Regions from separate parts of the Homo sapiens genome. Here region 2 is linked to region 1. Evidence: promoter capture Hi-C in human tissues and cell types (Jung and others, 2019). All regions are on one chromosome and are shown on one strand. Each heading gives the region's core, a stretch centred on a gene start or on the middle of the fragment in contact. The rest is flanking DNA. Distances are from core to core; before and after follow the strand shown. Region 1 holds the start of PIWIL1 (piwi like RNA-mediated gene silencing 1). Region 2 holds the start of FZD10 (frizzled class receptor 10).

The links. Contacts are between HindIII fragments. The study calls those that stand out against the background at their distance.
Region 2: a contact is called between the fragment with the promoter of FZD10 here and the fragment with the promoter of PIWIL1 in region 1, in 1 of the 25 tissues and cell types used here (neural progenitor cells).

Annotation. Positions count from the first base shown.
Region 1 is chr12:130,335,290-130,339,933 of GRCh38, reverse strand. It overlaps PIWIL1 (piwi like RNA-mediated gene silencing 1), which reads right to left and starts at 2,047. Exons shown (of 21, transcript NM_004764.5): 1 at 1,788-2,047. It overlaps LOC101927786 (a long non-coding RNA gene), which reads left to right and starts at 3,694. Exons shown (of 3, transcript XR_242978.5): 1 at 3,694-4,644. The HindIII fragment of the contact is 14,764 bases long and covers 1-4,644 here.
Region 2 is chr12:130,159,806-130,164,711 of GRCh38, reverse strand. It overlaps FZD10 (frizzled class receptor 10), which reads right to left and starts at 2,248. Exons shown (of 1, transcript NM_007197.4): 1 at 1-2,248. The coding sequence starts at 1,769. The coding sequence ends at 24. FZD10-AS1 (FZD10 antisense RNA 1) reads left to right here and starts at 3,034. Exons shown (of 4, transcript NR_033834.1): 1 at 3,034-4,055. RefSeq lists enhancers at 53-1,048, 2,635-3,201, 3,202-3,768. The HindIII fragment of the contact is 10,091 bases long and covers 1-4,906 here.

The DNA of each region.
Region 1 (4,644 bases), core at 798-3,297:
GACAAGCTGAACTCTCATCTCCAGCAGGAAATATTCCTAAAGCAGCACGTCAGTTCTCAAAGCCTGGTCCCTGACGGGCAGCATCTGGACTGGCTGGGAACAGAAATTACGGGGTGGGGAGCGGCTCTCAGCCCTCCCGAGTTAGAAGCCGACTGGAAGCAGCCCTCCAGCTGATTCTCATCATCTCCAGGGCCTGAAACCCACGGCGGCGCGCTGTGCTGGTCACTAAATACCTGGGGGGCTCAGCGCTCTACGTCCAGGTTTCCCAGCACAACTCTGGTTTTCAGCTTTATCTCCTTCCAGTTTCAAAACCACCTCAGTCTGGATATTGAATTCTTAAAGTCAGAAAGCAAGTGTGTGCTTCCAATAACCACACTCGCTGGAAATCACCTCTCCGATTCGCTACCAGCTCTGCCAAAGACGCTTCCACCTAACGTCCCTCCGGCGCTGAGCTCAGGACCACGCCGTGCACGTGGGAACCACCACCGCGCCACACGCCTAAAAACCGTTGAGCGGTACATTCTATGCGAGCGGGGTCTCTCTGGCCACAACTTAAAAACGAAAAGAAAAGCGCTCAGAGAACAGGCTGCGCAGGGGTGCAGCCGGCTTTGCCCTGGAGGCCGCCGGGGCTGAAGACGGCGAGAGCATCCATCCCAGGACGCCACCGCCCCGCCGCCCCTTTCCCTCCACAGGTGCCAAGGGCCGGGCCGCCAGCACCCGCGAGGACCCCCGGGCCTCGCAGAGCCCGGCCGTCGCGGTCGCCGCCTCACTTGGGGTCCTCCGGAGTTCCGTCCTCTTCCCAACGTCCGGCTCCCAAGGCTCCCGGGGGCGCAGCGCAGCGGCGGCGGACGCGGGAAGGGGCCCTCGCCCTCCGCAGAGATCGCGCCCCGCGGCCGCGTGGGTAGTGCGGGAGGTCCCGAAGGCCCTCCTGCAGAGCTCTCAGGTCCCCGCAGTCTCACGCACGGCCGCCAATGCGGAGACCTCCGCCCCCGCACCCCCGGCAACTCAGGCCTCAGCCTCTCACCCCGGCCCCTGCACCTGGGACCTCGCCCCCGCACCCCGGCCCCTGCACCCCCGCACCCCGGCCCTACAGCCCCGGCAAGTCGGGCCTCAGCGCTTCCCCCCGGCCCCGCACCCCCCACACCTGATACATCGCCCCCGCACCCCGGCCCCTGCACCCCAGGCTCCTGCATCTCCCAAACCTGGGACCTCGCCCCCGCACCCGGCTCCTGCATCCCCCGCACCTGGGACCTCGCCCCCGCACCCGGCTCCTGCATCTCCCACACCTGGGACCTCGCCCCCGCACCCGGCTCCTGCATCCCCCGCACCTGGGACCTCGCCCCCGCACCCGGCTCCTGCATCTCCCACACCTGGGACCTCGCCCCCGCACCCGGCTTCTGCATCTCCCGCACCTGGGACCTCGCCCCCGCACCCGGCTCCTGCATCTCCCACACCTGGGACCTCGCCCCCGCACCCGGCTCCTGCATCTCCCGCACCTGGGACCTCGCCCCCGCACCCGGCTCCTGCATCCCTTGCACCTGGGACCTCGCCCCCGCACCCGGCTCCTGCATCTCCCACACCTGGGACCTCGCCCCCGCACCCGGCTCCTGCATCTCCCGCACCTGGGACCTCGACCCCGCACCCGGCTCCTGCATCCCCCGCACCTGGGACCTCGCCCCCGCAACCCGGTCCCCGCACCTCGAGCCTCACCTCCACATCCCGGACCCCCAGCCGCCGCCCCCGCATCCCGGCCCCCGCACACCTAGCACCTCAGCCTGGCCCCGCACCTTGGACCGCTGCCCTCGCCCTAGTCCTGGTCCTTGCACCTCAGCCCGAGGCCAACAGCCCCAACGGCTCCCGCGGAGATCCCTCCGCGCCGCCGACCTCCCAGGACCTCCTTCGGCCCGCGCCCACCTCGCCTTCGGCGCTGGGTTCCCGAGAGAGCCAGGGACACGCGGGCAGCGAGCAACAGGCGCTCTTTTCCCGGGCGGATGAACACCGCCTCCCGGGCGCCGGCCTCGTGTCTGTACGCCATACGCCCAGTAACGGCGGAAAGCGGCGCGCGCCACGCCCTCATTGGCTGCCCCGCAAACGGCGGTTTCTGATGTGGCCGGGGCGGGACCAGAGGAGCCCCGCCCCACAGGCCCCGGCCCCGCCCCTCCAAGACCCCGTCTGGCCCCTCCCGGACACCCGGCACAGGCCCAACAAGCCAGGCCCGCCCCGCCCCACAGGCCCTGCCCCTGGCCCCCCAAGACACCGCCTGGCCCCGGACAGACACCCCGCACATGCCCTGGCCCCTCCCCATAGGCCCCGCCCCCATCCCGCCAAGACCCCGCCTGGCCCTGCCTAGACGCCACGCCCAGGCCCCCACAGGCCCCGCCCCCGCCCCACAGGCTCCGCCCCTGTCCCCCCAAGACCCCGCCTGGCCCCGCCCAGACACCCAACACGTGCCCTGCCCCCTCCCCACAGGCCCCGGCCAGCCCCACCCAGGCCCCGCCCTGTTCCTCTTCTGCTTCGCCCAGACCCCCGGCCTTCCCTGGCTTGACTCCTGCAGTTCCCCCAGTGCCAGCCCCCTGCAGGCGGACACGGGGTCGGGCCAGTTCCCTACTAGCTCGTGGAACTGGGCGGCGGCGCACGAAGTAGACCCTCCATAGACTTCGAAATGGTGCCCACGTGGGCACCGAGCGCCCTACTGTAGCAGTGGACTCGATCTTGGTCTGGCCTTTAACGTCGGAAGCTCTTTCACTCAGCACACAGAGATTTGAACTTTGACCCCAAAGAAAATAAAACTGCAATGCAAGTCTAAGGTGCCAGGAGGCCGTTACCTGGAAATTTAGCTTTCAATGACTTGTGCCTTGGGTGCATGCCAACGTGGACCGCAGGGGTTCTCAGCCTTCACCTGCGGGGGATCACCTGCAGGGCTGGTTAGGACACAGACCAGAGATTCCGGTCTGCAGGCTCCACAGGTGGGCCCCGCCGGCTGCATTTCCAAGGCATCGCAGGTGGTAGCGACCGGGTCTACGCCGAGCTAGGTGCCCTCCATAGGAGTTAATTTCCTCATGGAGGCAAAGTCAACAGCCACAAAACAACCGGAAATATTGTAAGATAGAACAGGTTTATTTGTCAAGGTGGAAGTGGGACTGAGGCTCACTAACTGCCTGACCTGTTATGTTCCATAACTATAAACATGATTGTAGGAGGTAGTAGAAATAGGGTCGCCTCTGCAGACAGGTTTTAAAACTGCATTTATACGGTAAACATAGTGCTTTTCCTTTTTTTTTTTTGTGAGACGGAGTCTCACTCTGTCGCCCAGGCTGGAGTGCAGTGGCAGGATCTTGGCTCACTGCAACCTCCGTCTCCCAGCCTCCTGAGTAGCTGCGACTACAGGCACCCACCACCATGCCCACATAATTTTGTGTTCTTTGTTTTGTTTTGAGACAGGGTCTGGCTCTGTCAGGCTGGAGTGCAATGGTGGGATCATGGCTCCCTGCAGCCTCGACCTCCTGGGCTCAGGTGATCCTCCTGCCTCAGCCTCCCCTGTAGCTGGTACTACAGGTGTGTGCCACCTGTAGTAATTTTTTTGTATTTCTTGTAGAAATACGAGAAATACACCCAGCTAATTTTTTTGTATTTCTTGTAGAAAGAGGGTTTCATCATGTTGCCCAGGCCGGTCTCAAACTTCTGGGCTCAAGTGATCCACCCATCTTGGCCTCCCAATGTGCAGGGATTACAGGCATAAGCCACAGAGCCCGGCCTACATATTGCTTATTATTCATACTTAAAAGCGCATGCCTGGGAATCGGGGGCTGGAGAGGGCTGAAGGCTCCCCAAGCCACCTTCCCAAATCCTACGTCTCATCTGTGCCATGAAAGGGGCAGGTTAGATGTCAGCGTTTCCCACACTAGCCTGAGTGTAAGCATCCACTGAGGGAACTTCCAAATAATACAGACTCCCAGATCACGCTGATTCCAGGAGGTCTGGGACGGGTGCAAGGAATTTCAAGAAGTAACATCAAGTTATTCTTATGCTCAGAGAAGGCTAATAAATTTGGGGCGAGGCCAAAAGGCGTTGGAAGCCAGTAGTTTGAAAGAAAAATAGCTTTCCAAAGGCTTTCGCTTTGTAAAAACTAAATGGTGCCTTTTGGAATACAATGTGAACATAACTTTTCCAAGGATTTAAGGTGTTGATGAGAAAGACATTCTGAGACCTGCCAGCAGATGGAGCCATAAAACAAGAAATAGATGTTTACAGCCTCAACTCGGGAGAAAAATACCGTGAATGCACCTTACACTATAGAAGTAACACTTTTCCCTCTGCTTTATTTTCTCTATATGCTAAACTCCTTACTTGCCTCTGCTAAAGAACATCGCTGGAGTGTCTTGGTGTGTGAAGTATGAAATAGTTTCTAAAGACATAAGTTGTGATATAGCAAGACAGAGGCAAAACCCCTCATTCTTCTGAGAGTGTAAACATCATGTCGCAAGAAGCTCACCTAAAATTTGAAAAGGAAAACTCAACGAAAATTTGAAAAGAAATTCAAGGAAAAAAAAATGTGACCTTTAAAATTTCCATGTTGACAGCACCACCAGGACCCCTTCTGGGATCCGTTGCTAGGTATAACTTCGTGCCTGACTCTGGAAGTTA
Region 2 (4,906 bases), core at 999-3,498, 180 kb after region 1:
TGTGCCCTTCCCTCCAGCCCTGTTCACACGCAGGTGGGCGACTGGGCAGGGATCTCATATTTCCCGTGGTGAGTTTTCTGGGGATGCTGGGCTTTTTTGTAAATCCCACCGCTGGTGATCACGCTGGCCGGTTTTCTCCGGCTCTTCTTCTTTAACCTACGGCTGCACACCTGCTGCCAGGACTGCAGAGTCTTGGAGGTCCAAATCCACATCCCGCTGGTGATCCCCACCACCAGCAGCATAAAGATCTTCACCATGAAGATCTCCACGGCGGGGATGGAGGCGGCCATCAGGCAGTCCAGCGTTTTAGTCTGGTTGTTCATTTTGCACTTGTGCTGCGCCGCCAGGATCTTCCAGTAATCCATGTTGAGGCGTTCGTAAAAGTAGCAGGCGATCACACAGGTGGCCGGCACGGTGTACAGCACAGAGAAGAGCCCGATACGCACCATGAGCTTCTCCAGCTTGTCCGTGTTCTCGCCGCCCGTCTTCATCACCCTCCGGATGTGGAACAGGGCCACGAAGCCCGAGAGGATGAAGGACGTGCCGATGACCAGGTAGCAGGCCAGGGGAATGAGCACGAAGCCGGTGAGCGCGTTGACGTCCATGCTGCCCACGTAGCAGACCCCGGTGAGCTCGTCCCCCGCCACCCTGCGCATGACCAGGATCAGGATGGTCTTCACCGCCGGGATGGCCCAGGCTGCCAGGTGGAAGTAGCTGCTGTTGGCTTCGATGGCCTCGTGGCCCCACTTCTTGCCGGCGGCCAGGAACCAGGTGAGCGTGAGGACCACCCACCACAGCGAGCTGGCCATGCCGAAGTAGTAGAGGACCAGGAAGACCAGCGTGCAGCCGGTGCTCTCCAGTCCCTCCTGGATGACATAGAGCTGGCCGCTGTCCCGGTCGCAGGCGATGCTCTCGGCGCCGGCGAAGAGGCGGATGAGGTAGCCCACGGAGTAGACGCAGTAGCACATGGAGAGGAAGATGATGGGGCGCTCGGGGTAGCGGAAGCGGGCCGGGTCGATGAGGAAGGTGAGCACGGTGAAGGCGCTGGAGAAGAAGCACAGCACCGCCCAGATGGCCAGCCAGACCACTGCGAAGCGCTTGTCCTCGCGGCTCCAGTACACGTCCACGCCGGGCGTGCAGAGCGGCGCGCACGACGCGCTCTTCTCCACGTGGTGGAACTTGCCCGGGTTGTCGCAGCCGCCGCGCCCGGGGCCCCCGTCCTTCAGCGGGTGCTCCTGCGCGCTGTGGGGCCGCTGCGGCCGGAACAGCGGCGGGAACAGGCCCGAGCCCCGGGTGGGCTCGTCCGAGCCGTTGTTGGGCGCCTCCATGCACAGGTAGTTGGGGTCGTTCTTGTTGGGGAGTTTCCGGCAGTCCAGGGAGTCGGGCCACTTGAAGTTGAACTGCTCCATAATCGGGGAGCACTTGAGCCGGGCCTGCTCGCACATGACCCGGCAGGCGGGGATGGGGGTAGAGACCTGCTCGGTGCACATCGGCGCGTACAGCGAGCACAGGAAGAAGCGGAGGTGGCCGTGGCAGCCGTACTCCACCAGCGGCGCGAACTCGTGCAACTGGATGGCTGCCTCGCGCTGGTTCTCGTGGCCCATCAGGTTGGGCATACGAGTCATGTTGTAGCCGATGTCCTTGCACATCGGGATCTCGATGGGCTGGCATTTGCCGTCGCCCGGGCGCTCCATGTCCATGGAGCTGATGGCGGCGCACGAGCCCATCACCTGCAGGACCAGCCACAGGCGGGGGCCCGGGCGCTGCATGCTGGCGTTGGACGTGTCCTCGCGGGGAGCTCCGCGCCCCTCAGCGCCGCCGCTCCCGGGCACGGGCTGCTGCTGGCCCCGGCTCTCCACCCCTGCTCGGGCCCCCGCCCATGCCCGCCCGGCCTGGCCCGAGCGCTGCGCACAGCGCCCCCGGCTCGGCTCTCCGCGCCCGGCGTCCGCCGAGTTGGGGGCCGCGGCGGAGAGCAGCAAAGTTTGCAAACAATACCGGGAAGCGAGGGAAGCCCCCGGAGCTCCCGGCGCAGCGGCCCGGCGCGAGCTCCAACTCACGGCCGCGGCAAACTTCGGCCTCTTCTTGGAGCGCCCAGGTGGCGCGTCTGGAGCGGGCTGGCGGCGCGGGCACACCGAGGCCGGCCCAGCTCGCGGCGCCCCCACAGCCCGGGCGGCTCCTCCCTCCCTGCGCCGGCCTCGGCCGGGACCAGCCGGCAGCTGTTTCGAGGTTTGCGTCCCGGGATGAGAAGACTCGCAAAAAGGCAAAGGGGGGCAGAAAAGCCGAGCGCTGACAGGCCCCGCCCCCGGGCCGCGCGCCCCGCCCCGCCGCTGCTTTGCATGAGAAAGCGCAGCGGCCCGGGGCAGCCTCCTCCCCGCCGCCCCGCCGCGGGCTCCCGGGCCCCGCGGGGGCCGATCCCCCCCGGCCTGCAGCCCAGCCTGCGGGGGGCGCAGCGCCTAGTCCCGCCCGCGTCGCCCGCCAGCCCCGGGACAGCCCGCCTGGCGCGCGGGGCTCTGCGCGCTGCGACCCTCCCCGGCAGTCCCGCCCGCCTCTCCTCGCCCTCTCTCTGCCTGGCCTCCAACTTTGCCTCTCGCTATCCTCTCCGCCGGCGCCCCCTTTCCCGGCGGTCCCCGGGATGGTCCCCGGCACCCCGAGGACGCCGAGGTTACGGGAAGTTCGGGGACTGGCGGGAGAAGGGGTTTGGGGGTGGTCCGCGGCGAGGGGCGCGGGGTGCATCTTCTCTTCCTTTTATGGTGAGTCCCGGGCGGAGGGCGCTTTCAAAGGGAGGTGGGATTTGCGTTTTATAGCCTGGGCCATAAAGTAGGCCCTTGCTTGTAAACCTGCCCGCATCTTCCTGAGGCTGGGGAGGTGCTACCAGCCCCGGGCTCCGGGCTCCGAGGAGGGATTTTCTTTGAAATTTCAAAGAGACGAGCTAAGGGGAGGGGGAGGGGCTCGAGAATCCGGATTTTAGGGCCGCTCATCCGAGGTCTCCTCTAAGAAGGCGGGAAGGGGGAGGGGCGGGAAGCGTCCCGGGACTTTGAACACCGCCTCCCACCCCGCGGGAAGTGCGGGCTTGGTTTGTACCGCGGTGACCCCCGCCCCCTCCGAAGCCGCAGAGCCGGGGCCTCGCGCCAGCAGGGCTGGAGATGCCTTCTTGGCGGCTGAGTTTATTTATTATAGGAAGTCATTCGCTCGTGGGGTATTTATGTGATTTGGCGAGTGATGTGCCCGGCCAGCGCCCTCCTTGGCTGCAGCCCCGCAGGAGGACCCGGAGTAGGGTGGGATGGAGTGGGTCGTGGGAGGAGCGCGTCAGCGCCTGCCCGGGGACCCCCAGCTCCCGCGAGGACACGGAGGCGCGCACGCCGCTCGGTTTTCCTGGAAAGTGGAGAAGGAGCGTCCTGGGCAGGTCCTCTGAGCTCATCCCCCCTCGGATTGGGGCGGGTCTGTGACGGGGTCACTTAGGACACGACGTCCCCCCGCCATTCCCTTCCCCCGCCCAGGGCGTTCGCGGTGGGCGCCCACCGCCAAGCCCCACTGTTCCCAAGGATGCGCCAGGTGCTTCCCGTAGCGTCCTGGGTTGACCCTTAAAAAAACAGCACCCCTAGGAGGTGGCCGGCCCTCTCCTCCCAGGGTCTCTCCGGGTCACGATCTTCCAAAGTTCGGAAACTCGCAGGATCGCGTGTGCAATCTCCCGCTACCTCCCGGGGGGCCGGGGAGAGGTCAGAGGAGCGAGTCCCGCGTCCACCGGCCTCGCTTGCCCCCTGCCCGTTTGAGGATAGTTCCAGGGAGCAGGGTGGAGTGTGCGGACATCTTTGGAGGCAGTGCTGGGGCTTCCCGCGTTGGCGGCGCTCCACCCGGCGTGGGGGGCGGCTGCACGGGCCCCCGCGGTGGGGACGCTGCGCACGGGGCAAGGTCTCCCTAGGAAGCGCCCGGGAAGGAGATGGGGCCCGCCAGGAACCCCCCTCACTGACCAGCTTTCTGCACGCCGTGCAGGAGGGGGCCACTTCCTCGGAGAGTATTGGCTTTTAATTAAAACAAGCCCTACAATTTTTACATCGGTAAGAAACTTGGGGAAATCTCACCTTTCCACTCATTCATTCATCCGTTCAACAGACATTTGAGCGCCCAGAATCCCAGAATTAATAGGCAGGTTCAGGCACCCACCCCTGGGTCGCTGTCCCTGGGTGTCCTGGGTCTCACTAGGAGGTGCTGGAGGAAGTCGGGGTGAGGGAGAAAGTGAAAAAGAAGGTAGAAACTCCGGGCAGTTAGAACACCACCTTCAACTGTGTTATTTCCCAAGTGAAAAGTTGCATGATTTTATTTTTGAAAGACTGCCATTTTTATTATAGTGTTTTTTTTTTTGTTGTTGTTGTTTTTTGTCTAGTGAGTAATTTTTCAGGACCTTTAAATTAAAATTAATTCAGCGGAAATCACTTGGCTTTTCTAGAATTTTCCTGGCAAAGGTCCTTCCTGGGCCCTATTTTCCTTCTTTTCCTTTTTGTGTCTCTCCCTCAGCAACTATTAGAAATATTTAGTGCAAGAGTGAGAGCCAAACGCCGGGAGCTGGGTGTGAGCTATTTGAGAAAGTGCCTCCTAATTGATCTTTTCTGTGCTGTTTTAATTCAGCCACGTTCAGGCCCATTATTTTAGCTATAACCACTTCAGATTGCCTTTTTCTCTCGTTTTTTATAAAAATGTCTGCAGAAGTGCTTCGCCCTGTCCAGCTGAGATGGAAACCAACAAATAGACTTTATTATAGAGAAATGAGGGTTCTGAGAAATCAGCAACTGGAAGATAAGTCTGTAACTAATAAATGAAAAGGCTCTTTTGATGGCCCCAGCTGAAAAGATATTTTATTTTATTTTTTTTCCTGTGTGTGGGATTTGAGATGTGTGAGTCTAAGGAGCAG